Linked DNA regions of Homo sapiens: region 1 is linked to region 2. The links are contacts of gene promoters, found by promoter capture Hi-C in blood cells and fetal thymus (Javierre and others, 2016). All regions are on one chromosome and are shown on one strand. Each heading gives the region's core, a stretch centred on a gene start or on the middle of the fragment in contact. The rest is flanking DNA. Distances are from core to core; before and after follow the strand shown.

Evidence for each region. The method cuts DNA at HindIII sites, captures the fragments that hold promoters and counts their contacts. A CHiCAGO score of 5 or more calls a contact.
Region 1: a fragment that was not itself captured here is called in contact with the fragment with the promoter of INPP1 in region 2 in 2 of 17 cell types (monocytes and M0 macrophages); the score reaches 7.3 in monocytes.

The regions. Positions count from the first base shown.
Region 1 is chr2:189,778,713-189,782,362 of GRCh38, forward strand. All of the region lies in intron 3 of ORMDL1 (ORMDL sphingolipid biosynthesis regulator 1), which reads right to left. Among named protein-coding and RNA genes, the nearest start is that of ORMDL1, 3.8 kb to the right of the region's middle. The HindIII fragment of the contact is 2,425 bases long and covers 751-3,175 here.
Region 2 is chr2:190,341,718-190,345,265 of GRCh38, forward strand. INPP1 (inositol polyphosphate-1-phosphatase) reads left to right here and starts at 1,872. Exons shown (of 7, transcript NM_001128928.2): 1 at 1,872-2,244. LOC124906109 (serine/arginine repetitive matrix protein 1) reads right to left here and starts at 3,332. Exons shown (of 1, transcript XM_047446773.1): 1 at 1-3,332. The coding sequence starts at 2,599. The coding sequence ends at 1,721. RefSeq lists silencers at 1,858-2,167, 2,238-2,567. The HindIII fragment of the contact is 2,404 bases long and covers 1,129-3,532 here.

The DNA.
Region 1 (3,650 bases), core at 713-3,212, 560 kb before region 2:
GTTGAAACCCCATCTGTACTAAAAATACAAAAATTAGCCAGGTGTAGTGGCACATGCCTGTAGTCCCATCTGTTCAGGACGCTGAGGCAGGAGAATTGCTTGAACCTGGGAGGTGCAGGTTGCAGTGAGCCAAGATTGCGCCACTGCACTCCAGCCTGGATGACACAGAGAGACTCCATCTCAAAAAAAATAAAAGTAGACCCTGAGTACTATGGCTCACTCATGCTTTGGGAGGCTGAGACAGGAGGATCACTTGAGGTCAGGAGTTTGAGACTAGACTGGGTAACACAGCAAGACCCCCATCTCAATCAGTCAATCAGCTGAGCATGGTGGCACACACCTATAGTCCTAGCTACTTGGAAGGCTGAGGCAGGAAGATCACTTGAGACCAGGAGTTCGAGGCTGCAGTGAGCTATGATCATGCCACTGCACTCCAGCCTGGGTAACAGAGTGAGACCCTGTCTCTGTAAGAAAAACAAAATGGCTGGGCATGCTGGCTCATGCCTGTAATCCCAGCACTTTTGGAGGATGGTGCAGAAGGACTGCTTGAGGCCAGGAGTTCAAGACCAGCCTGGGCAACATAGTGAGAGCCTATCACTATTAAAATAAAAACAAATTAGCCGGGTGTGGTGGCATGTGCCTGCAGTCCTCAAATTTATTGGGAAGCTAAGGTGGGAGGAGCTATGATCACGCCAGTCTCTTAAAAACAAAAGAGTACTTGGTCCAGGTGAAAAGAAAATATAGTAGAAAAGCTTAAGCCAAAACAATAAAATGAGAGCAAGATGATTTTCTTTATTGCTAGTGTATAGCCTCTATTTAGAGATGGTTGAGACAAGGTGAAGTCTCCTTGTTTCTGCACTGTTATCAACTGGTCTTATATGTCACACAAGAAACTTGGATTTTACCATGACTGCAATGGATGATCACTGAATGACTTAGAGTATGACTTGAGCAAACATGCATTTTTAAAACATCACTCTGCCAAGCTGGAATGGAGAAGGGTAGAGAAGCATCAAGAAGACTATTTGATTTATCTGAGTAATTTACTTGAGGAAAAAATGAGGGTATGGGGATCAAGTTGAGAGTAAAGCAGTAGAAGACAGTGCTCTGAGCAAATGGATATGGAATATAAAGGAAAAGAAGTTATCCTAAGACTTAGGTGACCTTGTATTCTTGTTTGCATACGATGGTTCTGATTATACCTAATCTCTTGTAGTAGTTATTACCAAAGCTCCATTTTACTCTCTAAACAGCCTGTTTGGACTATACATTACAGGTTGAGTATTCCTTATCCACAATGCTTTGGAGCAGAAGTGTTTCAGATTTTGGATTGTTTTGGATTTTGGAATATCGGCATATACATAATGAGATATCTTGGGGACAGGGCCCAAGTCTAAACATGAAATTCATTTATGTTTCATATACATCATACACACACAGCCTAAAGATAATTTTATATAGTATCTTTAATAATTTTGTGCATGAAATAAAGTTTTGATTGCATTTTAATTGCAACCTGTCAGGAAGTCAGGTATGGAATTTTCCGCTTGTGGCACAACACTGGTGCTAAAAAAGTTTCTAATTTTAGAACATTTTCTATTTTGGGTTTCTGATTAGGGATGCTCAACCTGTATATTAATTGCTTTACCATTAACATTCAGCTGTCTGGCTTGGCCTTTAGATAAGATTAGTAGTGAAGCCAGAGGATCAGATTGTGGGTGGTAAGGGAGTAATCAGGAATAAGATAAGTTCCATTTATACTTGTTTGGTTTAAGGTGCAAAGTAATCTGGTGATAAAAATAAATAGGAGCATCCTTATTCTACAGGTAGAAACTGAAAATATGGGTAGATGAAGTAACCTAGGTAGAATACATAGCATAAGAAGAGATGAAGAAAAGAACCTTGGGAATAGAAATATTTAAGAGAGGAAAAGAGAAGGAAGACCCCATAAGAAGAAAGAGAAGGTCAGAAATATATGCCGGTGAAAGTGATCCTATAGAAGCCAAAGGAAGTTTCAACAAAAGTGAGATGATTAGTGTAAAATATTTCAGAGAAGTCACTATTTAAAAGAAAACATCGTTTGCTCTTACAAAGTCTATCACATAAAATGGACTAAATGGACACATATTTATCATGTCTACCAGCACATCATTCTTATCCTCCTCCAGTCAACTTCAAATATACTCCAGAAGATAGAAAATAAATATTATTGTTATTATTTGAGGCAGGGTCTCACTGTCACCCAGGCTGGAGTGCAGTGGCACGATCTTGGCTCACTGCAACCTCCACCTCCCAGGCTCAAGCGATTCTCCTACCTCAGCCTCCCGAATAGCTGGGACTATAGATGTGCTGCCACCATGCCAGGCTAAGGTTTTGTATTTTTTGTAGAGACAGAATTTCAGGCTTCACCATGTTGCCCAGGCTGGTCTTGAAATCCTGAGCTCAAGTGATCTGTCCACCTCAGCCTCCCAAAGCACTGGGATTACAGGCATGAGCCACCGTGACTGGCCAAAATAAATATTAATTTTTAAAAATCAATTTCTCCTGTTTTCCTGTCTTAATGCTTTAAGTTCATTTTAAAAAATATCTTTCAACAAATGTACTGCTAAACTGGATTCAATTAAAATCCTCAACTAACTGTATTTCCTCCTTTTCACGTTACTTTAATGGGTTATTAAAGACAAGAAAAGTCGCTGTCAAGATTTTTTGTTTTTGTAAAAGGCAATTTCCAGGGCTGCATAATATGGTCAGTACAGTCAATCAAAACTTTGATACTCTGTAGAGCTAACACAAGAGAGTAACAAGCAGCAGCTAAGGCACCATAAGATCCTGAATCACATAAGATGATTAAGTTCAAAACTTAAATACTGAAACAGTGAAGTATACTTACACTATTTAGATAGATAAGTTAACAAGGATTGAAACTAAAATGATCTATTTTCTAGATTCTATACAATGAGAAAAAAAAAAGTCTTACTTAGAAAAAGGACCAATGTTGAAATAAAGCGTGAAAGAAAAAAGAAAATTCTATCCCAGATTAGAATTCTTCAAAATTAAGTCTTATATACTAAAAACTACTAAACTATACACTTTAAATGGGTGGATTTTATTGCATGTGAATTATATCTCAAAAAAGCTGTTAAAAAAACTAAGTTGTATACAACACAAAACCTTAAGCTTCTTTAAAAACTATGTTTAAACACACATGTCATAAAGTTTACCATCTTAGACACTTTTTTTTTTTTTTTGAGACGAAATCTCACTCTGTCACCTAGGCTGGAGTACAGTGGAATGATCTCGGCTCATTGCAACCTCTGCCTCCCAGGTTCAAGCGATTCTCCTGCCTCAGCCTCCCGAGTAGCTGGGACTACAGGCATGCGCCACCATGCCCGGCTAATTTTTGTATTTTTAGTAGAGATGAGGTTTCACCATGTTGGCCAGGCTGGTCTTGAACTCCTGACCTTGTGATCTGCCTGCCTTGGCCTCCCAAAGTGCTGGGACTTTAAATGTACAGTTGAGTGGTATTAAAAACATTCATATTGTTGTGCAATCATCACCATTACCATCCACATCCAGAACTCTCTTCATCTTGCAAAACCAAAAACTCTGTACCCATTAAGCAATAACTTTCCATTCCTTCCTCCCCTTAA
Region 2 (3,548 bases), core at 622-3,121:
GCTATTATTATAGCAGCAAGAGAATACTCTCCCAGGCAAAAGCAATAACATGTATAAAGGTGCAAATGTATGAAATCTGTTTGCATATTCAGGGAACTAGATGTGGTGTAGTAAAATGAGGTGTAATATTCAAGGGGCAGAGTTGACAGATGCGAGGGGTGATGGGTCTTGAATGAGTTGTTCAGGAACTTGCTCTTGATATTATCAGAGATTGGGAGCCAATGAAAGCTTTTAAGCAAGCAAGAAACCCTGCAGATGTGTGGTAGCAAAGTGGAAAATGGACTAGATTCCGCCAGGTGCAGTGGCTCACGCCTGGAATCCTAGCACTTTGGGAGGCTGAGCTGGGCGGATCCCCTGAGGTCAGGAGTTCGAGACCAGCCTGGCCAACATGGTGAAACCTCGTCTCTACTAAAAATACAAAATTAGCTGGGCATAGTGGCAGTCACTTGTAATCCCAGTTACTAGGGAGGCTGAGGTGGGAGAATCGCTTGAACGAAGGAGGCAGAGGTTGCAGTGAGCCAAGATCATGCCACTGCACTCCAGCCTGGGCGACAGAGTGAGACTCTATCTTAAAAATAAAAAAAAAAGAAAAGAAAAGAAAAGAAAAATGGACTAGATTTATATCCCTTGCTCCACCCTGTCTTCCCCAAATTTAAATTCCTGCTTCCTAGAGGCAAATTCTTTCACCTTCTATGTCTCTGGTATTTATCTCCTTACTTTTAAGAATCATGTTTAAATTGTTTCTTGATTTTGCCATCATAGATATGATTATGAGGCTAATTAAACAGTAATCCTAACCGCTCTGAGAATGGACCTAAGAAATGAATGTGAGAAAGAAAGTAGAAGCAGCCCACTTGCTAGTGAGTGAAAGCCAGGGAAGGGTGGGGGGATGCGGGGAGAAATTGTCTCAAGTTGGAGAACCCAGGTGCAGGCTGGGAGCAGTACCATGAATTCCATTCAAGAAGCCAAACGTTTTAAGCACCATTTCCTGGAGTTTGCCAAGTTGAGTATTGACCCAGCCTCCTGTCTTGTTGGTTCCTCACTGCTGAAGAAGACCAAGTGTTGACAACTCAGTGAGGCAGTCTCAGCTGGAGTGGAAAAATGTAGCTAAGAAAACGTGCCAGACAAAGCTTTAAGCAGAGCTTCCCAACTGGATGCCGTGAAACGAATGACAGGGATGCAGATACAGCATGGGTCTTCCCAGCCCTCCAAGTGCAAGGGCTTCTGCAGGAAGCCTTCTGCAGGAGCAGCCTCTTCTGTTTACCCCCATTTTGACCCTTGTAATATCATCCTTTCCTACCTGTGCCAAGAAGTGAAAAGGTGTGTGAAGCGCCGCTTTAGAAGGCCCAGTACATTCACAAACATCAGCTTCTGGGCGAGGCTGCTTGGCCTCTTCTATTCAAAACTTTGTGTTGCCCTTTTAAGGTTTCTATTCCCCCCACCCCCACCCCGCCCACCAACACCCATTCCTACCTAGGTTCAACCCAAACCATCCTTAAGGTACACTGAGTATCACAGCACCAAAGGCTGGAGAGAGATAAGTTCCCCACCCTTGATGCGCTTCCTGTCCAGGTGGCCCGAGGCCCACTCCTTAAGAGGCAAGGCCCAGAGACACTGCTGTGTCTTGAGGAACATCCAGTACACCTGACATTTCCATTAGAACAGTGGGACCCGGATACCACTGGCAGGAAGTCCATCTTCACAGCTGCCAACCCATCTGTCAAACCCGCAGTCCCCTATGAGAGTACAGATGAATGGAGGAGGAAGATTTAAAAGTGAATTCGTGGGCGGCGACAAGGAAACAGCAGCCGTGGCCAAGCTGACCCCAGAGCCCTTCCCTTCCTGGCCCTCCCTCTGAATCATCGCGCTCCACTTGTGACGTCGCGGACGCCCGGCTCGGGCAGGCGTGGGGGGCCCGCGCGTCCCGGGAGCCCCGAGGCGGCAGCGCGCGTTTCCACGCCGCGGTCCCGCGGGAAAGCCGGGGGCGGCGGCCTGGCTGAGGCCAAGCTCGGATCCGGTGCCGAGCCAAGCGGGGCCGTGCGTCGCCGGGGCTTCGCCTTCGCTCGCGTGACCTCCGCCGTCCTCCCCAACCCTCGTCCTCTGGCCGCGCCTGCGGCCGCACGCCCAGCGCCCCTCGCCTAACCTCGCGCCCGGGCCGCGCCTCCTCCTCCTCCTGCTCCCCGCCGCTTCCGTTTCTCGAGGGAAAGGCTGCTGCCTCCTGCTCTGTCCTCATCCCCGGCTTAGGTAACACGTTTTCCTCCTTACGACACCCACCACAGGGTCCCCGCGCCGCTGCCCCTCCTCCTTGGATCTGGGGCCCGGGCTGGTGAGCGGCGCGCGCCGTCGCCTCTCCGCGGGTAGGTGAGTCGATGGCGCCGGGAGGGTTCCTCGCCTCTGCGCGCCGGCCTGCGAGGTCCCTGCCCCGGCAGCGAGGCCGCCCCCGGCCGGGCCCGGCCAGGCATGCCCGGCATCGCCGCTGCAGCCAGCGCGGAGGGGAGCTCGTGAGTCCCGCGGCGCCCTTGGCCCTGCCCGAGCGGCCCGATGGGGTTGGGGGGCGGGAAGAAAGGGTGGCAAACAACGATTTTAAAAATCCAGTCATTAGTATTTGTAGGACGAAGAAGCTGATCTGACAGTTGTCCAGAGCAGTGGCCCAGCTGCAACAGGTAGATGGCGCAGCTGTCAGTGACCCCTTGGTCTCAGCCTTGGCTTTGAGAGATGCATCTGAGTGTCCCTAGCTGCCAGCTACCTCCAGTGACCTACTTGATGAGTGTGAAATAAATATGATGGGACTATATTTAGAAAAATCTTTACTTCCTTGCTGTTAATTCTCTCTGCATTTTGAAAGGTGGTTTTGTGAGGTGTGCATAATTAGTTGGTGTGTCCAGAGTGGTAGCTGGAAAAAAATATTTAACCTGGGTTTGGCCCTATCATGTAGACGGTTAGGCGCAAAGAGTGTGAAAGGAAACGCTTACTTTAGTACATCTGTGAAAAACACTTATAAGAAACCACGGCTTGTTTTTTGGAGATTTCTCATTTTAAAGGTATTTTTAAAGTGTTGAATAAGCAGAAGTTTGCCCACTGTATGATGGTGTTCACTTCAAAAGAACAGTGGGTTAAAAGTATGGACAGACCACTTAAGTGGATCCCATCTGTTGAGTAAAAGATTTTTTAGCCCTTTTACACTGATTCCTAGCTTTGAAGCCAGAAAAGTTGATAAGGATCAGCCCTGCTCAACTTGATAATAGTATAAGGATGAAAGTAATCCACTGAACTACTCTTGATTGGTGAATTAGCTAAGTGATCTCATTCTTACCTTTTAAAATAGAGAACATAAGGGAAAAAATAAAGGCAATGGAAGAATTCATTTTTTCAATACAGATATTTGTTTCCATTCTTATGTAGAGCCTACTTTATTTTTAAGTTTTTATGGATTTTTATACTACTTTTGAAGTCAGCTTAGTCATGAAGAGAATTATGTCAAATACATAGAGTTACACTGTACTTTTTGTGTAGAATAAGCTACCACTTTTCAAGCTTTTGGACTAAAC